Regions from separate parts of the Homo sapiens genome. Here regions 1, 3, 4, 5 and 6 are each linked to region 2. The links are contacts of gene promoters, found by promoter capture Hi-C in blood cells and fetal thymus (Javierre and others, 2016). All regions are on one chromosome and are shown on one strand. The core of a region is centred on a gene start or on the middle of the fragment in contact, and the rest is flanking DNA. Distances in the headings are between cores, read along the strand shown.

Region 1 (4,335 bases), core at 1,206-3,705, 440 kb before region 2:
CTGATGTTATCCTTGAAGATTATAGATGCTCACTGAACATCTCTTTCATTAAACACATTGTCAACTACAAATATAAACTTATATTAGAAAAATCCTCTTATGTCAATGGAAACATTCCACATATTCACAAACAAAAAATCTTTTCCTTTGGGTTTTTTGCCACATTCACCTCACTGGGATCTAACAAAAGGAACTACATGCAACAATAGCAAAAATGGTTAAGAAATTATTTTCTTATTTTCTTTTTTTTAGAGAGAGGGTTTCACTGTATTGTCCAGGCTGGAGTACACTGGCATGATCATAACTCACTGTAACCTTGAACTCCTGAACTCCCACCTCAAATTCCTGAGTAACTAGGACTATAAGCATGTATCATCATGCCCAGCAAATTTTTTAATTTTTTGAGAGAAAGAGTCCCACTATATTGCCCAAGCTGGTCTGGAACTCCTGGACTCAAGTGATCTTCCTGAACTGGCCTCCCAAAGCTCTGGGATTACAAGCATGAGCCACTGTGCCCGGCCTTGTTCCAGTTCTGAGGGGGAATGCTTTCAGCTTTTCTCTCTTCAGTATGATGGTGGCTGTGAGTTTGTCATATATGGCTTTTATTATTTTGAGGTATGTTCCTTCTGTGCCTAATTTGTTGAGGGTTTTTTTTACCACAAAGGGATACAGGATTTTATCAAATGCTTTTTCTAAATCTATTGAAATGATCATATGGTTTTTAATTCGGTTTATGTGGTGAATCACATTTATTGACTTGTGTATGCTGAGCCATCCTTGCCTCACTGGGATGAAGCCCACTCGATTGTGCTGAATTATCTTTTTGATATGCTGTTCAATTTGGTTTTGCTAGTACTTTGTTGAGGACTTTTGCATCTATGTTCATCAGGGATACTGGTCTGCAGTTTTCTTTTTTTGTTGTGTCCTTTCCTGGCTTTGGTATCAGGGTGAGACTGGCTTTGTAGAATGAGTTAGAGAGGATTCCTTCCTTCTTGATCTTCTGGAATAGTTCCAGTAGGATTGGTATCAGTTCTTTGAATGTCTGGTAGAATTTGGCTGTGAATCCATCTGGACCTGGGATGTCTTGGTTGGGAGATTTTTTAAATTACTGATTCAATCAAACTACTTGCTATTGGTCTGTTCAAGATTTCTATTTCTTCCTGGTTCAAGCTTGGGGGGTTGTGTGTTTCCAGGAATTTATCCAGTTCATCTAGGTTTTCTGGTTTGTATACATATATGTGTTCACAGCAGTCTCAGATGATCTTTTCTATTTCCGTGGTATCAGTTATGGTATCTCTATTTTCATTTTTGACTAAGTTTATTTGAATCCTCTCACAGCTAATCTACCTAATGGTCTATTATTTTTGCTTATCGTTTCAAAGAAACAACTTTTAATTTTATTGATCCTTTGTATTTTTTGGTTTCAATTTTGTTTAGTTCTGTTCTTTGTTATTTCTTTTCTTCTGCTAGCTTTGGGTTTGGTTTCTTCCTGTTTTTTTAGTTCCTTGAGGTGTGATATTATTAGACTGTCAATTTGTGACCTGTCTTTTTGATGAAGGCATTTGGCACTATAAACTTCCCTCTTAGTATTGCTTTTGCTGTATCTGAGATTTTGATAACTTCTGTCACCGTTATCAATCATTTTTAAAAAATTTTAATTTCTATCTTGATTTCATTGTTAACTCAAAGATCATTCAGGACAGGTTGTTTAATTTCTAATTTCTATAGGTTTGAGAGTTCCTCTTCAAACTGATTTCTAGTTTTATACTGCTAGGGTCTGAGAAAACACTTAATATTATTTCTATTTTAAAAAATATTAAGACTTGTTTTGTAGCCTATCATATGGCCTATCTTGAAAAATGTGCCACTAGGCCAGGTGCAGTGGCTCACACCTGTAATCTCAGTTGTTTCTGGAGGCTGAGGTGGGTGGATCACTTGAGGTCAGGAGTTCAAGACCAGCCTGGCCAACATGGCAAAACCCCGTCTCTACAAAAAAAAAAAATTTACAAAAATTAGCCAGACATCATGGCGCCCATCTGTGTTCTACTTGGGAGGCTAAGGCAGAAGAACTGCTTGAACCCGGGAAGCGGAGGTTGCAGTGAGCTGAGATTGTGCCATTGCACTCTGGCCTGGGCAACAAGAGTAAAACTCTGTCTCAAAAAAAAAAAAAAAAGAGCCATGGCTGGGCACGGTCGCTCACGCCTGTAATCCCAGAACTTTGGGAGGCCAAGGTGGGCAGATAACCTAAGGTCAGGAGTTCGAGACTAGCCTGGCCCAACAGGGTGAAACCTCGTCTCTACTAAAAATACAAAAAAAAAATTAGCCGAGTGTGGTAGTGGGCACCTGTAATCCCAGCTACTCAGGAGGCTGAGGCAGGAGAACTTCTTGAACCCAGGAGGCGGAGGTTACAGTGAGCCAAGATTGTGCCATTGCACTCCAGCCTGGGCAACAAGAGCAAGTCTCCATCTCAAAAAAAAAAAAAAAAAAAAAAAGAAGTCATTTGTTTTCCCAGTACTAGGGGCTTTCTCCTCTCTCCCCTTCATCTAGTAAGATAGCATATTGGCCCCAAATTCTAACTAACTACTCCTTTGAGTTACCCACCACTGAGTTCTTCCATGTGTATGCACATTGCACATGTAAATAAACTGTTTTTCCCTCCTGTTAATCTGTTATTTTGAAACTGTCCCTATAAACTGTATGAAATTCATCGGGGAAGAAGAGGGGGGAGAAACGAAAATAAACGAGGCTTGCAGCACATGCAGTGTTTATCATGAGGTCAGCTTGCTCTCTGACTAGCTACTTCACCAGTGTTTTGCGCCTGCTGCCTCAGAATCACATAGACCCTGCTACGAGATTAAAGTTCCCCTTAAGTGTTCTATAGACAACATGAACATTATAAAACATTAAGTTTTCCCTTTAAGATATTCTTTCAGATCCTGCATAGCAGTGAAATTATTGACATCAGCCTGTCTGAAGGACCCCACTGACGCCAGTTGGTCTGAAGGATCCCAGAGGAGCTGACTCACCAAAGAATGCAGTTTCCACATCTTGATGATTTCATCCCCCGTATCCCAACCAATCAACGACCTCAATTTTCCCGCCCCTTACCTTCCACAATCCCCTTAAAACTTAAAATACCAGCCCATAACTCCTCAGGGGAAATGGATTTGAGGGTCTCCTCCCATGTCCTCACTCAATGCTCTGCAATCATTAAACTCTTTCTCTGCTGCAAACCCTGCTGTTTCAATGTAACTGATCTACTACTGCACAGTGGTCATATAAACTTGTTGGTTGTATAACATTTTGTCAGTTTAATTTTCGGGCCCTAATCTCTGAACATAAGAAGGTAGAGAAAAGGTTTCTCTTCCCCATACAACATACAAAATATCCATTCAAAATTCAAGGTAAACAAATAGATTTTAATGTACTAGTATAAAAAACTTCACAGCTTGCCAGGAATAAAACTAAAATAATAATAATAATAATAAAACAAATTTGAAAATAAAAGCAAAATGTTTATTGATGTGGTTTCAGATCCCACAATGCAACTTAACTTTAAGACACCAACACACCAAGTTTTGGCATAGTATCAAAGATGAATATCCACAATTATCTTTAAAAGCTATTAAAATACTCTTTGCTTTCCAACTACTTATCTGCATATCATCAGATTTTCTTTATATATTTCAACCAAAACAATATATTGCAATCAATTAAATATAGCAGATAAGTAAGCTTCTTCCATGAAAGAGATTTACAAAATGTAAACAATATTATTATTCTAACTAAACTGATCTTTATCTGAAAAATATTTTTCATAGAAAATATGCTATTTAACACATAGGTTTATTATTTTAAAATAAATTAATGCATAAATATTAAATTTTTTCTCAGTTTTAATTTCTGGTTCAGTATATACTGATAGATAAAATCCATATAAACAAAACCTCTTTGGGGTCCTTGTTAATTACTAAGAGTTTAAAAGGGTCCTTAGACTAAAATGTTTCAGCACCTCTAATCTACTATACTCCCATCTCATCTCTACCCACATGGATAATTTTTAGCATCTAGTCATATTCCTTATTTTCTACCCTTTACAACAACCTTTGTGAACTCAATATCCATATTCATGATCCATATGAGACTAAGACCTTGGAGTTCTTCCTCCTCCTAAACTTCATTCCTTGACAATTGCCTACCAGGAAAGCCATTTCTTTCTTTTTAAAAAAAAAAAAAAAATTTTAATTTTACTTTAAGTTCCGGAATACTAGTGCAGAATATGTAGGTTTGTTACATAGGTATACATGTGCCATGGTGGTTTGCTCCACCTATCAA
Region 2 (3,052 bases), core at 553-3,052:
TCTCTTTCTCTGACTCTGAGGCCACTGCCTCCCTCTTGTATAATTAAGGACCCCTGTGATGACAATGGGCCCACCTGGAGAATCCAGGCCAACCACCCCATCTCCAGGTCCTTAATCACACTAGCAAAATCTTTTTTTGCCATGGAAGGTAGCAAAGCCACAGGTTCCAGGGATGAGGCTGTGGACATCTTTGGGGAGCGTTATTCTGCTTGCCACACAGTAACCCCTGCCATAACTCAGGGCGATGGCATATTCTATCATTATCTTCAATCAGAAACTGATGTGTGGGGAGGTGATGTATCATAACTCATCCAGGGTCAGGCAGCTGGATTTGAACCTGCCTGACCCTTAGATTTGAGGTTTTCTGGCTCCAGAATCTTCTCTGAAGTGAAAGGCATGAGGCCGACCACTCCCTGATCTGGTAAACAGAGATGTCAGCCTGGTTTCTAGTGTTAGGGAGTTTCCTGGAGTGATGGTACAGGGTACATTTCTGCCCTGCATCCCAAGTCCAGAGACTGGGTTCTAGGTCCAGCCTTTCTTCTAACTCCCTGAGAGATGACAGCCTCTGGGCAAAGTCCCTCTGTGCTCTTCAGTCTCTTCATCTGTGAGATGGTGGCATGGGGAGAGGCTGGAGTGATGTCACAGTTCCTCTCAGCCTGCATCACAGGCTCTAGGACTCAGGTCCTATCAGTAACCTGCTGGGGGAGGTCTGGGCCTTCCAGGAGAAACCTGACAAGATGGTGCTGCAAACACCAACGGACACACAGCACTTTACATTCACAGGCTGTCTCAGGGGCCTCCAACAACCCTGACCATTCTTGCCCCATTTTGCAGATAGAAAACCGAGGCTCAGAGAGATTATATAACTTGCCCACGATCTTCCTCCAGCAAGATGGAGGCCAAGTGAAATGAGAAAGCAGGTCTCCTGCCACTTCCTTTGCCCAGAGGTCTTCTCCCCACACCAGGGCTTCCCAAGGGCTGAGATCCAGTCACACCTGTGCGTGATCAAATATAAGTGTGAACAATGCAAAGGGAGACGTCTTCAATCTAAGGGGCTTCAATTCTGTAATGTAATTCTGAGATTATGCCCTTTTTTGTTAAAGCCTTTCCTTTTTGAAGTGATGGTCACTGTAGATGGTGAGGGTTTTTTGGAGGCGGACAATATCTTTACATGACAAAATTAAAAGTTGGCAGCTCCGAATTGATCTCTGGAGTGTTTTGAAATGCAAGAGGTCTCCGAAACCTCAGTCTGGGAGCCACGGAGGGCTCTCCCCTCTCCCCAGGTTTACCAGTTTGGGAGGCTTGGAGAGAGGCCTGGAGGACCTGCTGGGGACTAAAGAAGAGCACTGGTGGGAGGACAGGGCGGGGGAAGGGGGAGGGGAGTGAAGTAGTCTCCCTGGAATGCTGGTGGTGGGGGAGGCAGTCTCCTTGGTGGAGGAGTCCCAGCGTCCCTCCCCTCCCCTCCTCTGCCAACACAATGGACAATGGCAACTGCCCACACACTCCCATGGAGGGGAAGGGGATGAGTGCAGGGAACCCCGACCCCACCCGGGAGACCTGCAAGCCTGCAGACACTCCCCTCCCGCCCCCACTGAACCCTTGACCCCTGCCCTGCAGCCCCCGCAGCTTGCTGTTTGCCCACTCTATTTGCCCAGCCCCAGGGACAGAGCTGATCCTTGAACTCTTAAGTTCCACATTGCCAGGACCAGTGAGCAGCAACAGGGCCGGGGCTGGGCTTATCAGCCTCCCAGCCCAGACCCTGGCTGCAGACATAAATAGGCCCTGCAAGAGCTGGCTGCTTAGAGACTGCGAGAAGGAGGTGCGTCCTGCTGCCTGCCCCGGTCACTCTGGCTCCCCAGCTCAAGGTTCAGGCCTTGCCCCAGGCCGGGCCTCTGGGTACCTGAGGTCTTCTCCCGCTCTGTGCCCTTCTCCTCACCTGGCTGCAATGAGTGGGGGAGCACGGGGCTTCTGCATGCTGAAGGCACCCCACTCAGCCAGGCCCTTCTTCTCCTCCAGGTCCCCCACGGCCCTTCAGGATGAAAGCTGCGGTGCTGACCTTGGCCGTGCTCTTCCTGACGGGTAGGTGTCCCCTAACCTAGGGAGCCAACCATCGGGGGGCTTTCTCCCTAAATCCCCGTGGCCCACCCTCCTGGGCAGAGGCAGCAGGTTTCTCACTGGCCCCCTCTCCCCCACCTCCAAGCTTGGCCTTTCGGCTCAGATCTCAGCCCACAGCTGGCCTGATCTGGGTCTCCCCTCCCACCCTCAGGGAGCCAGGCTCGGCATTTCTGGCAGCAAGATGAACCCCCCCAGAGCCCCTGGGATCGAGTGAAGGACCTGGCCACTGTGTACGTGGATGTGCTCAAAGACAGCGGCAGAGACTATGTGTCCCAGTTTGAAGGCTCCGCCTTGGGAAAACAGCTAAAGTAAGGACCCAGCCTGGGGTTGAGGGCAGGGGTAGGGGGCAGAGGCCTGTGGGATGATGTTGAAGCCAGACTGGCCGAGTCCTCACCTAATATCTGATGAGCTGGGCCCCACAGATGGTCTGGATGGAGAAACTGGAATGGGATCTCCAGGCAGGGTCACAGCCCATGTCCCCTGCAAAGGACAGACCAGGGCTGCCCGATGCGTGATCACAGAGCCACATTGTGCCTGCAAGTGTAGCAAGCCCCTTTCCCTTCTTCACCACCTCCTCTGCTCCTGCCCAGCAAGACTGTGGGCTGTCTTCGGAGAGGAGAATGCGCTGGAGGCATAGAAGCGAGGTCCTTCAAGGGCCCACTTTGGAGACCAACGTAACTGGGCACTAGTCCCAGCTCTGTCTCCTTTTTAGCTCCTCTCTGTGCCTCGGTCCAGCTGCACAACGGGGCATGGCCTGGCGGGGCAGGGGTGTTGGTTGAGAGTGTACTGGAAATGCTAGGCCACTGCACCTCCGCGGACAGGTGTCACCCAGGGCTCACCCCTGATAGGCTGGGGCGCTGGGAGGCCAGCCCTCAACCCTTCTGTCTCACCCTCCAGCCTAAAGCTCCTTGACAACTGGGACAGCGTGACCTCCACC
Region 3 (4,027 bases), core at 96-2,595, 360 kb before region 2:
GAGACAAGATTAGGATTTCGGTCAGAGGGGGATGAAGCACACACCATCCCCACTCCCACCCAGCACCACCATCCTTCCCCTTCCTCCTCCTGGGTCAGGGTCGAAAAGTGGAGAATCCCCAGAAATCCTTTAGAGTCCTCTGATGAAGCCTCCCGAGTCCTGCCTTCGAGCCAGTGGGGAGGGGGAGAGGAGGATGATTACAGGGCGGCCCCCCCAGGGGCATCTCAAGACACTCCCAGGACAGCATGGACAGGCATGGACCCTCCTGCCCTGTGGCTCCTGCCAGGACCCCTCCCCTGAGCTGCCCAGTGGGTGAAAGTGGGCAGTGGAGAAAGAAAGTCCAGGGTCAAACGGGAAGGTGGCACCCCCTACCAGCAGAAGCCCAGAAACACGAGCAGAGCCAGGGGCCCCTGCAGGGCTGCTGTGCCCCTTCTCTCTTCCCAAATAGGAGTGAGCACACCTGGACCTCTGAGAGGGCAGGAGGGTGGCTCCTCTCCACTCCACGGACAAACAGGAGTGGCCTGGCTACATAAATGTGTGCCATCCTCACTGCTACCTTTGGAATAGCAACTTCGAAAGGGAACCACCCTTTGGGAAAGACCAAGGGTCCCAGGCCTGCCCCGCCTATCACTCCAAAGCTCCTCCTTGGCAGTACCCGCCCCCCACCCCTCTGCTACAGTGGGGGTGACCTCCCACTGTCAGACAGTGGAAGGGGCTGCTTGTCAGAAGGACAGGCCTTCCGTCTCCACTCTTTGCCCCTGACTGGAATACAAGAGTTCTGTGGCCCTTCACATTGTCACAGGGCTATCGCTGCTGCTCAGGCCCTGGGGACCCGCCAGAGTGGGACACCGTGCTCCAACACAGGTGCGTTCACACACTCCTCACCTCCTTGGAAGTTCTCCTGGAGGGGCAACAGACAGTAGAGCCTTGGCCTAACCGGCCGGCGCCTGCACCCTTACACACACCTTGTGGATGTGGCTGGCTGAGATGGGGAGCCTCCCTCTCACCCCGGTGGTTTCCATCAATTCCTCTGCACTAGCCAAGTCATCCGGGGCATTTCAATGAGCCCGGGGCTGCCCAGTCTGAGAGAGATCCAGGACGCTAGTGATCCAGCCCACCCTGCCTGGAGCTTGGGCCCCCATGCTGACTGAGAGGGTGGGTTTCCCTAGCCAGGGAGCTGGAGCTGGCGCCTGGGACCTCAGGAGAGCCTGCCTGAAATGCACCCACTGCTCCTGTCCAGCTCCAGCCCAACTTCCCTCCAAGCCCCAGCCAATGCACTCACAAGGCTTCCTCAGGGCTCGCAGGAAGGAGTGAAGACTTGTGTCTGGGTTCGGACAGACAGGATGGGGCGCTGGCTGGGTGAGGGGTTTAAAGGGCTGCCGCCGTGGTGATGTCAGCCTCCCCCACTGGCTCGCTCCTCGGCCCCCTCCCTGCTAGAGGAAGCCGGCTCCGCTCCCCACCCCCGGCTCCCCCAGTGACTCCACACAGGCTCCATATTTGGGGAAAGACACCAAGTTGGAGCAGTCTACCGGGGCTGCCGAGACATTCTCTGCATGCTTTGGAGATGGAGCGGGCCGGGGCGGGGCACGCTGCCGGCGGGGAGCCGGCCCGGGAAAAGCCTTTTATGGACAGGACCCTGCCCGGACTTACGGCTGCTCCTACTTCACTGTTCTCTGGCCCCGAGTTTGAGAAGAGGGGGAGTTCAATAGAGTCTGGCTGGAGAGAGGGGCAAGGGGCTGGGGAGCCGGGAATCCCAGGGGTTTGTGGGGACAAACCAGCCACCCTCTCCTCCTGGGGCTTTTAGCTCTGATGGGACATGGGATCCAACCTTTCCTGAGGACCTACTCCACACCAGGCCCTTTGCAGTGCTCTCATTGAATACTCACAGCTACAGTGTGAGGGTGTAATTACATCCCCATTTTATAGATGAGGAAACTGAGGCCCCGAGTGCGTCTTCCTCAAGGCCACATGGTGAATGGTAAGTGGCAGATCCTGCACACCTCTGCCAACCCGCATGGGTGCAGGAGAGGTGGTCAGACCCACCCTTTCAATTGGACCACCCTGCTCAGGTTGAGAAGAGCTTTCAGTGCAGGTAGGTCTTGAGTTATATGCTTTAGTTGGGGCTGGGATTTGAGGGTTCGGCAGAAGCTGAGTCCAACTCCGGTCCCCATCCAGTGGGCAGTGTCAATAAGAGGGTCTATAAGGCCTGGCAGGGCCTGAGACACTAACGCAGGAGAAGGAGGCTCAGGAGGCTGGTATCATCCCTTCCTCCCTTTAGGAACAGTCCCTACCAGCCTGGAAAACAGACCAGCCTCTGTCACTCCAGAGATAACCCACTCTCATCTTGCTCGTACCTGGCTTCAGGGATCTTGGGGAGAGATAAGAGGTTAAAAAAGGTGAGACTAACAGTGGGATCCCTGGACTGACTGCTGTGGCACTCCCCTGCAAGGGCATCTGGTAGGGAAGACCTAACACTCTCCACTACACACACACTGCCACACCCGGCACCACCCCTAGCCAAACAAGGCCCTAGGAGGGGGCTGCCAGGCCTGGCAGAGGAGGGGCCCGCCTCCGCAGTTCTGCCCACTGCAACTGGACATGCTCCAGAGCCCAGGGGAGGCACAGCCATAGCACCTCCCAGTGGCGCCTGCAGGAAAAGCAGGAAGAGGAGTGGGCCCTGGCGAGGGGAAAGCCCACTCCTCCATCCCTGACCCTGCAGACCTCTGGTTGTGTTCTGAATTCAACAGATTCCTTGGCCCCCAAATCATGTCCTCCTTAGCCGACTGAAGTCTAAATGAATCTTTCAGGGACATATCAAAACTCCCTCCTCTTGGAGCCTGCCCAGCTTTCATCACCCTCCTGCCTCGGCCTGCACGCTGAGCGGATTATAAACGCCGCATCAGGGAGCACTGCTTGGGCCTGTGGCTTGGTGAGCTGGGGGCCGCTCAGGTCAGAGGTGAAGTGAGCCTCAGTCTGGTGGGCGGGGCCAGGTGGGCAGAGACTGCTGTTCCTGGGGAGGTAAGGAGGGATGTCTGCAGTGGGATGGCGTGGGAAAGGCTTTTCCAGGAACTGGCCTCTGTCCAGCACAGTGCCCCGGTAAATGTTTACTGAATTAATGCTGTTGCTGGAGGGACAGGAAAAACGGGAGAATCAAGGAATTGCAGTTCCCAGTAGGGCCATGGCTTGAAGAATGGGGAAATGGAAGACCTCCGCCTCTCCCCTCATCCTCAACAGCTCCACCCAGAGGGAGTGCAAACAAGGGCCCCAAGAACTGAGTCTGGTTGTTTATTGAATGCAAATTCATTCATAGAAAACGGAAATGCAACCATAGCATGGAGACGCTCTGAGAAAAGATCCAGACCCACCTCATCTCCCAGCCCTTCAAGCAGAGCTATAAAAACAAGTTTGGGAGAAAAACACATTCCCATCCCCAAAGCAGAGGCCCCGCCTGAGCTCCCCCATCCTCAGCATCTGGGGTGGACCAGGTGGGACGAAGGGGATCCAAGGACCAGGGTGGCCAGGGTGCCCAGAGCTGGGGCAATTCTTTGTAAACTCCAAGGTTTCATAGGTATGTGTGTGCATGACTAACACAGAACTTGCCTGAAGACTGGACGGAAACTTAGAAGCCAGCCCTGGGTCCTAGAGCGAGGCTAGGACTGGGCACGTAGAGGGAAACAGCACATCCCTTCCTGAAGCCCCTTTCTAAGGTAGGCACTGGGGTGCCCACAGCTGTGGAGGCAGAACGGGCTGAACTCTGTATCATCCCTCCTTTGCCCCTGGACATTCTTGGGCAGTGTCAATGGCACTGAAAGGCCACCAGCTGGGGTTTGGCAAGACTAAGGGCCTGGAAAGAAGGAAGGGAAGGGGTGAGGCGCTTCTCCCTCCAGTCCTGGTGCTGGCATCAGTCTGGGAGCTGATGGGATGAAGAGGTGACCTCTGAATTCAGCCTCTTGAATCAGAAGGCGGTTCTCAAATTGGGCTGAGCGCATTGCTAAAGAGCCAGCCCTGAGCACAGGTCAGAGGGAAG
Region 4 (4,244 bases), core at 633-3,132, 380 kb before region 2:
CAAGGCGATTCCGCAGTCCCCCCGTTCCCTGGAGGTCCTGTGGAATGGTAAGTAATCAGCACAAAGGGGGTTAATCTTAGGCCTGAGGTTTGGGGCCGGGTGACAAGGAAGTTAAACTCGTCCTCCCTGCCAGATTCTACCCCCTTTCGGAGCTGAGCTCCAGCCAAACCTGTGGAGTTTTCTTTGACCATTTTAGGACATGTTACTGCTTCTGAGTTGGCTCCCCCAGCTGCTTAAACAAGACCTTTCTCCTGGGTTCCTAGTAGTGAAAAGGAGCAGCAGAGCAACTGAGGAGGAGGGCGGGTGGGAGGCATGGGACTGGGGCTTGGGGAGGTCAGGCGAGACCGGGGTGAGAGCTCAGAGAAGCTCCTGTGACTTCCATGCTAAGATCTTGCCAGAGAACTCTGGTCAGTCCTCGGGTGTCTGGATGAAGTAAAGGAGTTAGGCATTTCTTCCTTTGATTCTCTGGCTTACCTAATAGAGAGAGTCAGATGTGGTCTGCTGGGGATGGACAGAGGGTTTGTAGAAGTCTCCTAGGCTTTAGTGACCCATCCTCTGCCTCCGCCTCCATGGTGGCCAGCATGAACCAGGATTGTCTGAAGGGGTTGTATCCTCTAAGCCAGCGACCTGGTTTTATGTTGAGCGAAGAGGCGGACGCCCTCCCTAGAGGAGAGTGCAGCTGGATCAGGATGCTTGTGCAGAGGATGCCCTGTCTGCACATTTACCAGCGTTTTCCCTACCCCCAGCTCCTTGGGGGATTCTTTTTCCTGGAGTCATTTACTACTTTTTGCAAAGGAAGTATGCTATGCTTAGTGCCCAAACCAAAACTGTCTTCACTTTTTCTGTCCTCCTAGAAAGTGATCAATTGAGAGCCATGGCAGGAGAAGGAATGGCCAGAGAAGGTTACTCAGAAGGGAGGATGAGGGGTGGCTTCCCTCAGGTGAAGGTTTCACAGAGAAGAATTGAGTTTTCTCCTCCTAACCACATCCAGCACTTGCCCAATTTCCCTCAATGTGGAATGAAACCCCTGGGCCAGTCACTGCATTTCCCATAAAAGGAATGTTATCTTGGAAAGGGCATAAAGCGTCAGCCAAGTCAGAGAAGTTCAGAAACATTTCCAGGAATGCAGTTCATTTGGAAGCCCCTGGCTTTGCACTTGCGTGTCTTAGAGATAGTGTGCCTTCAACTTTACCTTCTATCCAGGGCTATTTCCTGTTGCATCTGTCAAATGAGGGCAGTGACTTAAAAGAGTAATATGGTCTTCCCAGCTTCGTCATCCTCTGCTTCCTGCTGACCAGGGGACGTTGCCACGGAATGTCTACCCTAGGCATTGAGGCATCTGGCAACTGCTTGCTTGTCACTAAAAAGTAAGAGAAAGAAGGACAGATTGCCTGGGTGGAGAAGAGTGGGAGGTGGCCTAGTGGAGAAAGCAGGATTAAGAGAAGGGAGGGAAAGATTTAGGGAGTTTGGCTAATGGAGCCCTTTACCTGTTGGAAGGGCAGCAAGCAAAAGTTTTACCAGAGTTTTCCCTACCCCCAGCTCCTTGGGGGATTTTTTGTTTTGTTTCATTTTTGTTTTTGTTTTTTTGCCTTGAGTAATTTTGACATGCAGAGTTATTCACAACTTTTTGCAAAGTACTATTTTCATTGGCTTTTCAGAGCCAGTGAAGTTGCCTTCTCCTCCAACATGACCACATTTTCCTCTGAGCAGACAAAAACAGAACAAATAAGTTTGTGGGCTTGCTTGGAGGTTGAAAGAAATAAGTCCAGTTAAAATGAGAGTTGAGCCAGGTGCCCTGGCTCATGCCTGTAATCCCAGCACTTTGGGAACTTTGGGAGGCAGATAACCTGAGGTCAGGAGTTTGAGACCAACCTGACCAACATGGTGATACCCCATCTCCACTAAAAATACAAAATTAGCTGGGTGTGGTGGCTCATGCCTGTAGTCCCAGCTACTTGGGAGGCTGAGGCAGGAGAACCCGGGAGGCAGAGGTTGCAGTGAGCTGAGATCGCACCATTGCACTCCAGCCTGGGCAAGAAGAGGGAAACTCCATCTCAAAAAAAAAAAAAAAAAAAAAAATTGAGAGTTGAGCAGCTCAGTCCCAGGAAGTCAAGAAACCCCTTCTACAGCCAAGTTATGGTTGTTTTCCACCAGGACCTGGTTGATTCAGTGTCTGGGGGCTGGAAAGTGAACTTTTTATAAAGCAGAGGGAGCTGAACATCCCTGAGATAGAAGAGGAGGCTAAATACCTCTAAGACTCTAGAGTAGCATTGTCCCAAAGAATTTTCTGCAATGATGGAACTGTTCCATGTCCATGCTGCTCAGTTCAGTGGTCACTAGTCATCTGAGTCTATTGAACATTTAAAACATGACCAGTTGGCCGGGCATGGTGGCTCACACCTGTAATCCCTTTGGGAAGCTGAGGCAGGAGCATTGTTTACGCTCATGAGTTCAAGACCAGCCTGAACAACATAGTGAGACCCTATTTCTACAAAAAATAAAATTAGCCAGGTGTGGTGGTGCATGCCTCCTGGGAGGCTGAGACAGGAGGATTCCTTGAGCCCAGGATGCCAAGGCTGCAGTAAGCCATGGTTGCACTACTGCACTCTCCATCCTGGGTGACAGAGCGAGACCTTGTCTCAAAAATAATAATAGGCTAGGCGTGGTAGCTCATACCTAGCCTATAATCCCAGCACTTTGGGAGGCCAAGGGCAGGGGCGGATCACTTGAGGTCAGGAGTTCAAGACCAGCCTGGCCAACAGAGTGAAACCTCGACTCTACTAAAAAAAAAAAAAAAAACGATACAAAAATTGGCTGGGCACGGTGGCTCACGCCTGTAATCCCAGCACTTTGGGAGGCTGAGGCGGGTGGATCACAAGGTCAGGAGATCGAGACCATCCTGGCTAACACGGTGAAACCCCATCTCTACTACAAATACAAAAAAATTAGCCAGGCGTGGTGGTGGGTGCCTGTAGTCCCAGCTACTCGGGAGGCTGAGGCAGGAGAATGGCGTGAACCAGGGAGGCGGAGCTTGCAGTGAGCCAAGATCGTGCCACTGCACTCCAGCCTAGACAACAGAGCGAGACTCCATCTCAAAAAAAAAAAGTATATATATATATATATATATATATACACACACACACACACAAATTAGCCAGGCATGGTGGCACGTGCCTGTAGTCCCAGCTATTCAAGAGGTTGAGGCAGGGAAATTGCTTGAACCTGGGAGGCAGAAGTTGCAGTGAGCCAAGATTGTGCCATTGCACTCCAGCCTGGATGACAGAGCAAGACTCCATCTCAAATAATAATAATAAGGCTAGTATGACTAAGGAGCTAAATTTTAATTTTGTTATACTTCATTTTAATTTAGATAGCCATGTGTGGCTAAGGGCTACCATATTGAGAAGTGCTGCTAAAGAGCAAGACTGATTTTTCTCTCTCCCCGCTGACAGGAGGTTATGAGGGAGAGGGGATTGGGGCCTCTTGGGGTTTTTAGATCTGACGCTGGTCTGAAATCTCTACCTGAGGGTAGGAGGGAGAGTGGGGCTCTGGAGGAGTGTGTTATTCACACTCAGAGAGTCTGTGATTGGAAGGTGCCTGAACACCCACTTGCACCTCTCCTTTTGTTGTCGTTTGCAGTCTTGAGGATACTGGCTAAGCCTCTGCCTACGCAGTGAGTCCTGTTCCTTCTCCTCTCCAGGTCTTCCCTCTTTAACCAACATTTCCCTCTCTGCTGATTCTTCCTTTCTGCCTTCAAATGCAAGTCCCTGCTACCTCCAACCAGGCAACTTTTCAAATGAATGAACTGAAGCAATTTCTCCCCTTTGTCACACACTCCCTCTGCCACAGAAGACTTGCTTTCTTACTCATAGTGCCCCTTTCCTGACCGGTTCAGGGGCTGGTTCAGAGTTCATCCTTTTTAACATTCTTGTCACTCTGACCCTATTAATGAGGTCTTTGTTGCAACGTCTCTCCTCCTGTAGCTTCTGTGGCGGCCTTCTTGGCTCCATAGCCCTCCTCTGCCTTCTCTGCCTGAGGTACTTGTTTCATACTCCTGAACTGTGAGTGTCTTCTAAGGCTTGTTTCCTGACTTTTTCCTCACTCTACATCATCCTCCTTGACAGTACAGCTATGTTTATGACCTTAGCTACCACCTCTCCACAAATGAGTCCTCGACCTAAATCTCTTATTCTGATCCTTCACCAGTGGAAAGGATAGAAACTAGAGCATAGCTTCCATAAGAT
Region 5 (4,348 bases), core at 1,499-3,998, 480 kb before region 2:
TACATGGATTGTCTCATCGAATTCTTACCTTTTGAGGTTTGAACTATTAATATCATTATCTCCATTTTACAAATGATAAAATCAAGTCTCAAAAAGGGGCCAGGCAAGTTGGCTCACGCCTGTAATCTCATCACTTTGGGAGGCTGAGGCAGGCAGATAACTTGAGGTAAGGAGTTAGAGACCAGCCTGGCTAACATGGTGAATTCCCGTCTCCACTAAAAATACAAAAATTAGCTGGGCGTGCTGGCGCGTGCCCGTAGTCCCAGCTACTTGGGAGGCTGAGGCAGGAGAATCGCTTGAGGAGGCAGAGGTTTCAGTGAGCTGAGATCATGCCACTGCATTCCAGCCTGGGTGACAGAGGGAGACTCCGTCTCAAAAAAAAAAAAAATTAGCCAGGCATGGTGGTGTGCGCTTGTAATCCCAGCTACTCAGGAGGCTGAGGCACAAGAATCGCTTGAACCCAGGAGGAGGAGGTTGCAGTGAGCTGAGATGAAGCCACTGCACTCCAGCCTGGGTGATAAAGTGAGACTGTTTCAAAAAAAAAAAAAAGGACTCAAAAAGTAAGTAACCAGAGTGGGCTCTCCCAGTTACTAATTGAACCAGAATTAGAACACTGGTGGTATTGGAATACTTCTGATTCTACAGAAGTTTTAAATATTTAAGTCATCAAATCCATCCAGTTTTTGGGTTTGTTTACCTTCTAGGGTTTGTTAGGGAGGTCTTCTTCAATATAAGATCATGAAAATATTCTATTTTTCCTGTAGTTTTATTTTAATGTTAAATTCTTTAATCTATCTGGAGTTTATTTTCAGAGGAATGAAATTGGATTTGGTTTTTTTTCCTTCCAAATGGGCTGCCAGACGTCCCAACAACAGTTTTTGAATAATGCGTCCATTTTCCTCTAATACGAATGCCATCTCTATCATATCTACAATTCCCATAGATACATTTCTCTATTTTGATTTCGATTTTTTTAACTTGTGTCTAATCATCTTATTGATTAGGGTTTTCTATCCATATCATATAATCTGCAACTAATGATTCCTTTGCTTTCCAACATATATAACACTTTTTCCATTTTCTTGTCTTTTGAGTCAATCAGACCGGTCTGAACCGTGTAGGATAAGAGTAGAGATAATGATCGGCCGGGCGCGGTGGCTCACGCCTGTAATCCCAGCACTTTGGGAGGCCGAGGCGGGAGGATCACGAGGTCAGGAGATCGAGACCATCTTGGCTAACACGGTGAAACCCCGTCTCTACTAAAAATACAAAAAATTAGCGGGGCGTGGTTGCAGGCGCCTGTAGTCCCAGCTATTCGGGAGGCTGAGGCAGGAGAATAGCCTGAACCCGGGAGGCAGAGCTTGCAGTGAGCTGAGATCCCACCACTGCACTCCAGCCTGGGCGACAAAGCGAGACGCCTTCTCAAAAAAAAAAAAAAAAAGAGTAGAGATAATGATCTTTCCTTTCCAAAGCCTGCCTTTAATGGGAGTAACGTAGCCTGTTATTACTACATTTGTTGTTGTTGTCGTTATCTTGTTTAAAAAGTTTCCTGGCTGGGTACAGTGGTCCATGCCTATAATCCCAGCATTTTGGGAGGCCGACGTGGGCGGATCACTTGAGGCCAGGAGTTCGAGACCAGCCTGGCCAACATGGTGAAATCCCATCTCTACTAAAAATACAAAAATTAGCTGGGTATGGTGGCGCATGCTTGTAATCCCAGCTACTCAGAGGCTGAGGCATGAGAACTGCTTGAACCCGGGAGGCGGAGGTTGCAGACTTGAGACCATGCCACTGCACTCCAGCCTGGGTGACAGAGCAAGTCTCCTTTTCAAAAGAAAAATGAAGATTCCCTTTCATTTTTTAAAAAAATTAAATCAGAGTAACTGCTGAATTTTATCAATGGCTTTCCACATTTGATAAACAATATATTGTTAAAACCATACCGGCTTTTCTCCTTTAAGCTATTAGAACTCTAACGCTTTTGGTTCAAGGCTTTAAGCTCTTACCAGTTAATATAGAGATACTTTTCGGAGTGTTAACACTTTAAAGCTATCAACAGCCATTTCTCCTCAGTCTGGCTGATGGTGCAGAAAATCAGAGGAGCCATAAGGATTCAAGTAGAGCCTCAAGGGCACAAACAGGTTCAGATGGGAGAAGACCCACTGGCTCTTACCTGCCCGCAGATCGCAGGCGCAGGAGAAAATAAGACAACTGCACTTTCCCCTTTTGGACCCTGCTCCGCTGGTTTGCAGCCTGGAAAAACTCTTCCTCCCCTTTCATCCTGCTCCCTCAATCTCTGCTCGTGAAAATCCTACCCATTTTTAAACGCTCAAATTAAATACCACCTTCTCCCACTGAGTCTTCCCAGATCCCCTAGATGTCCCTCCAAATCCCTACTCCTTAATGCCACATCGTATAGTGTGAAACCCCACCGCGGCAGGAATCACTTAACTGTCCCGTGTAGAATCACCGTTTATTTCTCTCTGTATCTCCAGCGCCTGGCAGTGTGCCTGGCATACAGTGGGTGCTCCTTCCATGCTGAAAGAAAGACTGACAGACGGGAGGTGTGCCCCTCTCCATCCGTCTGGCCCTTCCCGCCAGGGCCTTGCAGGGCGGACTCCACCTCGGCAGAGGGCATCCCAGACCCCTCTCCAGCCCCGGAAGCCGGATTGCCTGCCATGGGAAGACTACACTTCCCAGCGATCCCAGGGAAAAGCGAAAACCTTTTGGCTTTGACAGCCGCCGCCACAAGTCTTTCCGCCTCCCCAGCCCGCCCGGGAGCTGCGAGCCGCGAGCTGGATTATGGTGGCCTGAGCAGCCAACGCAGCCGCAGGAGCCCGGAGCCCTTGCCCCTGCCCGCGCCGCCGCCCGCCGGGGGGACCAGGGAAGCCGCCACCGGCCCGCCATGCCCGCCCCTCCCAGCCCCGCCGGGAGCCCGCGCCCGCTGCCCAGGCTGGCCGCCGCCGTGCCGATGTAGCGGGCTCCGGATCCCAGCCTCTCCCCTGCTCCCGTGCTCTGCGGATCTCCCCTGACCGCTCTCCACAGCCCGGACCCGGGGGCTGGCCCAGGGCCCTGCAGGCCCTGGCGTCCTGATGCCCCCAAGCTCCCTCTCCTGAGAAGCCACCAGCACCACCCAGACTTGGGGGCAGGCGCCAGGGACGGACGTGGGCCAGTGCGAGCCCAGAGGGCCCGAAGGCCGGGGCCCACCATGGCCCAAGCCCTGCCCTGGCTCCTGCTGTGGATGGGCGCGGGAGTGCTGCCTGCCCACGGCACCCAGCACGGCATCCGGCTGCCCCTGCGCAGCGGCCTGGGGGGCGCCCCCCTGGGGCTGCGGCTGCCCCGGGAGACCGACGAAGAGCCCGAGGAGCCCGGCCGGAGGGGCAGCTTTGTGGAGATGGTGGACAACCTGAGGGGCAAGTCGGGGCAGGGCTACTACGTGGAGATGACCGTGGGCAGCCCCCCGCAGACGGTAAGGTGGTCAGGCCAGCCCTTAGCCCTCCGCCTGCATGAGCAGAGGGGAGACAGGATGGGGATGCCTCAAGCTAGCCCCTGCTCAAATGGGCTGGTGGGGACAGCAGGAGGGACCCCTCCCCAGCCATTCCCCGGGGGTCACGTGGTTGTTGGCAGAAGTGTTCCCAAGCTCCCCATTCCCTCCTCGTCTCCCCTGGCTGCCTAGTTCCCCTTGCTCCTCATCTGACACATACGCCGTCTGGAAGGATTTGAGGCAAGACAGACACATCAGCTGGGGACCCTGACCTGGAGGAAGGGTCCGCCACAGGGGCACTATAACAGGTGTCAGCCCCCTCTGACAGTGGCCCAGTCCGAGTCTCCCAAATCCCACCACTCTAGAGGTTGGCCACCCAACCTTGTCCCCTCCTCTGATTCCCACCATTGTTCCCAGTACCTCCAGGACCAAGGAATCCTGGCAGCAGTTGAATAAGCACCTTGCTCCCACCATCTGGGCTGCCACTGGTACGGCAAAGTGAGGTTGTCGAGGCCCCCCTGACTGCACTCCGCCCGGAAGCCCTGGACAGGCTCCTGCCGTCCCCTCCTCCTCCCCTTCTCCCTCTCGCGGTCTACACTCCGGCCCCTCCCCCACCCCACACCTCCCCAGGCCAGAGGGGAACTGAACTGAGCCTGGTGAAAGAACAAATGGTAGGAAAGGAGCCAGAGCTCCCTTTTAAGAGTGGGACTCCTTCCATGGCGGGGGAGAGGGGAGTTACAGAGAAAACACTGTTATGCCCTCCCCATCCTTCCTGACAATCTCCAAGGTACCTTCAAGGTGGCTGGTGGAGGTGGCACCCTCTGCACCTCTGTGGGTGAGCAGCCCTCCATGTGGGGTGCTGTG
Region 6 (4,477 bases), core at 488-2,987, 340 kb before region 2:
GTTGCAAGAATTCTCCCAATCTCAGCTCTGCCTGGGGTCTAGACTTCCCACACTAGCTGTGTCTATTTCAACTCAGGGACTCACAGCTGGTGAAGAAACCAAAGAGAAGTCAGGGTGAAGTGGATTTTTCACAGTGGACAAATTCCCCTTCTCTTCCCACCCAACTTGCAGTTGGCCTTATAAAACCTCTGTCACCCTCAATTTACAAGGCCAGCTGGCTCTCCCAGGCAGGAAGAGGGCTGGGAAGCCCTGCATTCATCTCCCTGGGGAGTCTGAGATGTAACTTGCCTGCACAGAGCTTTTCAGTTCTGGGCCAGTCTCATTCCCCTGAGGTTTTCTGGGCAAGCCCAGTAATAAGCCTGTTTCCTCTCCCACCGAGACCCCACAGAGCTGTCAGATTCTGGGGTTTAGGGTAGAGAGCAAGCCATGTGTGCTCAGACCACAACTGATGGAAGAATGGGGGCGGAAGAGAAGATGGGAATGAGCCAACTTCAAAAACTGCCCAGCTGGAGCTTCAGAGAAACATTGGTGGCAAAGGAAGGAGGACTGGTCAAGAGGCTCCAGTGTGGTTCTGGGAACTGGGAACCTAGCAGGACAGCTCGTTCCTGGGGCCTCCCAAAAGGGTAGCGGGGCGGCAGAATCGCCTAGCCCTCGTCGGCTTCCCCACTCGCCTCTGGCCCCTAAGCCCCCAGCCCTCACCCTGTTGCGGGTCACAGTATGGTTGAAGGTGTAGATGTTGACCAGCTCGCTGTTGACCTCGTCCACGTAGGTGCGCTCAAACTCGGCGTCTTTCTGCGAGACGTTCTTGGGCCCCAGAACCCCCAGATGGCTCTCGACCGAGGCCACCAAGAGCACCAAGAAGGGCAAGCCCAGAGCGAACATGGCCCCGGCAGGGCGGCAGTGGCAGCGGTGGTGGCGGCGGCGGCGGCGACAGGAGACAGGACACCTCCGGGACGGGTTGCGGCTGCGGCCGCAGCTTCCAGCATCTCACCAGGACCAGAACTTTAACCCCGGCCTGAGATTAGGAAATGTCCCCTCCCAAGAGCCCCGAAGAGGCTCCCAGGGTCCCCGCAGGGGAGGGGGCGGCCGGGAGGGGGCGGGGAGGGAGGGGATGCTGGCTACGGGAAGGGGTCCCAGCTCGCGAGGGGCTGAGTACGACCTGAGACCCTGGAGCCCCGGGCCAGGGCCGTGAGAAGGAGGGCGGCTGGTTGCCGGGAGCCTGGAGACGCCGGGAAAGGGGAGGGAGGAAGAGCCGGCGGCGGGGGCTGGCCGCGGAGGAAGGCGAGTCGCAGAGTGAGGGGCGTGATAGGTGGTAGCTACCCGACGCCGTGCTGGGCTGCGAGTTTTCCGAGGTGCGGGCCCTTTAAGGGCGGGCGGACGCGCCGTCCCGACGCACGAACACTGAAAAGTGAGCTGCGCCGCTGGGCGATAAACAGCAGGGCTGCTGGCCCGCCCGCTGACGTCAGGGGAAACTGACACAGATTTAAAGGACCAGGTCCCGCATTTGCCCTTAAAGGGGCTGCAGCTGTCTAGCTGAAGGGGAAAGCTTGCAATGCCTTCTCCAACTCCTACCCAACTCTCTCCCGTGATTTTCACCATCTCTGAAACTCACGTTGGAATAGGCAGATGTTTCTGTTAACAATCTCCAAGTGTTGGGTTCTTGCTGAACAACTCTTACATTTGCTCAAACATAAGGATTCCCCCACCCCCACCACCACCTTTACAACTAACATCGTCCAACCCTGGGCCACTTTTTCTCCGGGGATCTTAAAAAATGAAAAACTCGAAGGATTAGGAAACAGGACGGTGGCCCTACCGGCGGAGGGGAAACGGAGGCAGCACTGCAGGAGGAATCCCCATGCCTTTCCCACCTCCCTCTAGAGGGGCCACACAACTGCAGGGACGGCCTTCCGAGCTTTCCAAGCTTGCCGGGCTGTTTCCCCTCTTCTCTCAGAGACAGTTACAAAACTCATTGAAAGATACTGACCTTCAGTGTAAATTGGTGAAAACTTTTCTACAAAATATTTTGGCACTGTTTCAAGAAACTTAGAGAGCTTTATACCCTTTGATCCAGTAATTCCACTTCTGGACTCTATCCTAAGGAAATAGGAAGCACAGATAAAAATACCTGGGCAGCTACGCTTATCACTGTGATATTTATAATATAAAGCAAAAAGGAAATGACTTGGATATCCATAATGAGGGATTGGTTAAATGCACTATCATGAAGGCATCAAAAATGATGCTTAAGACTTCACAGGACACGTAAGCAGAGAATTCAGGATATGACACTAAATAAACAGTATATAGAGCCAGGTGCCGTGGCTCACACGTGTAATCCCAACACTTTGGGAGGCCAAGACAGGTAGATCACTTGAGGTCAGGAGTTCGAGACCAGCCATGGCCAACATGGTGAACCCCATCTCTACTATAAAAATACAAAATTAGTGGGGCGTGGTGACGCGTGCCTGTAATCCCAGCTACTGGGGAGGCTGAAGCAGGAGAATCGCTTAACTCTACCAGGCGGAGGTTGCAGTGAGCTGAGATCATGCTCCTGCACTCCAGCCTGGGCTGCAACAGAGCAAGACTCTGTCTCAAAAATAAATAAGTAAATAAAACCGTATATATTCCAAATGCATATAGACATGCATAGAAAAATAGAAAAAAATTGTACTAAACATTTAGCAATGTCTCCAGAAAGCAGGGCAAATTTTAAAAATAAAATTTAGCAGTAGTTATCTTTGAATTACAATTTTAAAAATAACACATATTGTATATCATTTTCCTTTAATTCTAAAAATATAGAGTAGTACCAAAAAATAAAAAATAATGGATTGTGAGTGGTTCTTAAATTTTATTTTTTATATTTAAAAAGATTTACAAATGTTCTACAATGTATATATATTTATATATTGCTTTTTTATCTGCCGGGGGGTGGAGACAGGGTCTCGCTCTGTTGCCCAGGTTGGAGTGCAGTGGCACAATCTCAGCTCATTGCAACCTCTGCCTCCTGGGTTCAAGCAATTCTCCTGCCTCAGTCTCCCGAGTAGCTGGGATTACAGGCCATGTGCCACCACGCCCAGCTAATTTTTGTATTTTTGGTAGAGACGGGGTTTCACCATATTGGTCAGGCTGGTCTCGAACTCCTGACCTCAGGTGATCCACCCACCTCAGTCTCCCAAAGTGCTGGGATTATAGGCATGAGCCACCATGCCTGGCCACATATATTGCATTTATAAGACAAATTAGACTTTTTTTTTTTTTTTTTTTTGAGATGGAGTCTCACTGTCACCCATGCTGGAGTACAGTGGTGTGATCTCAGCTCACTGCAATCTCCGCCTCCTGAGTTCAGGCGATGCTCCTGCCTCAGCCTCCCAAGTAGCTGGGACTACAGGCACCCGCCACCACACCCTGCTAATTTCTTGTATTTTTAGTAAAGCGGGGTTTCACCATATTGGTCAGGCTGATCTCGAACTCCTGACCTCGAGTGATCCACCCACCTAGGCTTCCCAAAGTGTTGGGATTACAGGCGTGAGCCACTGCGCCCGGCCAAATTAGACATGTTTAAAGGAAAAGAAATGTGGCCACCTCTGAAGCTGTCAGACATCCTAATAAAGCCACCCAGATCAGTGCCTTGTCAGAGTTCTCTCAGCTGGCAGGATTGCAGCAGTCTCAGCTCCCAGCCCTGCCCAACTATCTGGAGCCTTGTTCCAATGAAGACTATTTTACCTTATGATCAGTTAGTTATATTTACTCATTCCTGCAATAAATATTTAATAAGCATCCACGATGTGCCAGGTACTGTTGTAGTTATGCTGGGCAAATGGTGAGTGGAGGAATTAGTTTTGGCCCCTGTCCAAGCACAGCATACTTGAGGATGAAGACCAGAAGCAAGCTGCACCCCTTTTCCAAAGGGTTCACCAATTAGAAAGTCAGCTGGAAGATAACCTTATGGGTTTCCTTGGCCAACCCCTCATTATACAGATGAGGAAAGTGACGCTCAGAAAAACTTCAGCCCATTAGTACCTCACTAGACTCAAGTTTGCACCTTGGTCCAGTACTGTTTCCAGCACATCTAGGCGAATATGAATCAGAGAATCCTCAGGATGGCAAAAGAGGTTTCTTCATCATGAGCCCTCCATGCAGTCAGCTGCCAAGTTTGGAGAATCAGTGTAGGATTTCCTCAGTCCATCTGGACTTTTCTTTCATGGTAATCCTGCTCATCTTGCCAGTAAATAATCTGAAACATTAAGAAACACTCGTGATACATTGCCCAGGCTGGTCTTGAACTCCTGGCTTCAAGCGATCTGCCACAGCCTCTCGAGTAGCTGGATTACAGGCAAGCACCACTACTCTAAGTTGGCCTCATAACTTTGGGGCAAGATGTGACCCTACGCCTGTTTTAAACGCACATCCAGAGTCCTACTTCACACTTAATTCATCTTGGGAGGTGGAGCCCAGAAAACTGCAATTTAAC

Evidence for each region. Contacts are between HindIII fragments. The CHiCAGO score rates a contact against its expected background, and 5 or more counts as called.
Region 1: a fragment that was not itself captured here is called in contact with the fragment with the promoter of APOA1 in region 2 in 8 of 17 cell types (total CD8 T cells, total B cells, naive CD4 T cells and 5 more); the score reaches 8.8 in total CD8 T cells.
Region 3: the fragment with the promoter of TAGLN here is called in contact with the fragment with the promoter of APOA1 in region 2 in 6 of 17 cell types (total B cells, monocytes, M0 macrophages and 3 more); the score reaches 6.0 in total B cells.
Region 4: a fragment that was not itself captured here is called in contact with the fragment with the promoter of APOA1 in region 2 in 13 of 17 cell types (total B cells, naive B cells, total CD4 T cells and 10 more); the score reaches 14.1 in total B cells.
Region 5: the fragment with the promoter of BACE1 here is called in contact with the fragment with the promoter of APOA1 in region 2 in 1 of 17 cell types (erythroblasts); the score reaches 5.5 in erythroblasts.
Region 6: a fragment that was not itself captured here is called in contact with the fragment with the promoter of APOA1 in region 2 in 2 of 17 cell types (total CD4 T cells and activated CD4 T cells); the score reaches 5.2 in total CD4 T cells.

The regions. Positions count from the first base shown.
Region 1 is chr11:117,272,514-117,276,848 of GRCh38, reverse strand. All of the region lies in intron 6 of RNF214 (ring finger protein 214), which reads right to left. Among named protein-coding and RNA genes, the nearest start is that of BACE1, 42 kb to the left of the region's middle. The HindIII fragment of the contact is 2,565 bases long and covers 1,173-3,737 here.
Region 2 is chr11:116,836,372-116,839,423 of GRCh38, reverse strand. APOA1 (apolipoprotein A1) reads left to right here and starts at 1,802. Exons shown (of 4, transcript NM_000039.3): 1 at 1,802-1,819; 2 at 2,017-2,079; 3 at 2,267-2,423; 4 at 3,013-3,052. The coding sequence starts at 2,037. It also overlaps APOA1-AS. The HindIII fragment of the contact is 2,883 bases long and covers 1-2,202 here.
Region 3 is chr11:117,196,688-117,200,714 of GRCh38, reverse strand. TAGLN (transgelin) reads right to left here and starts at 1,345. Exons shown (of 5, transcript NM_003186.5): 1 at 1,283-1,345. LOC100652768 (a long non-coding RNA gene) reads left to right here. Exons shown (of 8, transcript NR_045215.1): 2 at 803-864; 3 at 1,927-1,978; 4 at 2,279-2,396; 5 at 2,808-2,929; 6 at 3,311-3,485; 7 at 3,569-3,707. It overlaps SIDT2 (SID1 transmembrane family member 2), which reads right to left. Exons shown (of 26, transcript NM_001040455.2): 26 at 3,273-4,027. RefSeq lists a silencer at 2,428-2,722 and an enhancer at 2,125-2,788. The HindIII fragment of the contact is 9,715 bases long and covers 1-4,027 here.
Region 4 is chr11:117,214,269-117,218,512 of GRCh38, reverse strand. PCSK7 (proprotein convertase subtilisin/kexin type 7) reads left to right here. Exons shown (of 17, transcript NM_004716.4): 12 at 1-47. Among named protein-coding and RNA genes, the nearest start is that of PCSK7, 16 kb to the left of the region's middle. RefSeq lists an enhancer at 1-1,005. The HindIII fragment of the contact is 9,653 bases long and covers 1-4,244 here.
Region 5 is chr11:117,314,656-117,319,003 of GRCh38, reverse strand. BACE1 (beta-secretase 1) reads left to right here and starts at 2,748. Exons shown (of 9, transcript NM_012104.6): 1 at 2,748-3,469. The coding sequence starts at 3,209. RefSeq lists silencers at 3,020-3,109, 3,200-3,309 and an enhancer at 3,838-4,348. The HindIII fragment of the contact is 5,304 bases long and covers 1-4,348 here.
Region 6 is chr11:117,175,669-117,180,145 of GRCh38, reverse strand. It overlaps SIDT2 (SID1 transmembrane family member 2), which reads right to left and starts at 1,403. Exons shown (of 26, transcript NM_001040455.2): 1 at 700-1,403. The coding sequence starts at 882. It also overlaps a transcript of PAFAH1B2 not described here. RefSeq lists an enhancer at 45-114 and a silencer at 1,095-1,304. The HindIII fragment of the contact is 378 bases long and covers 1,549-1,926 here.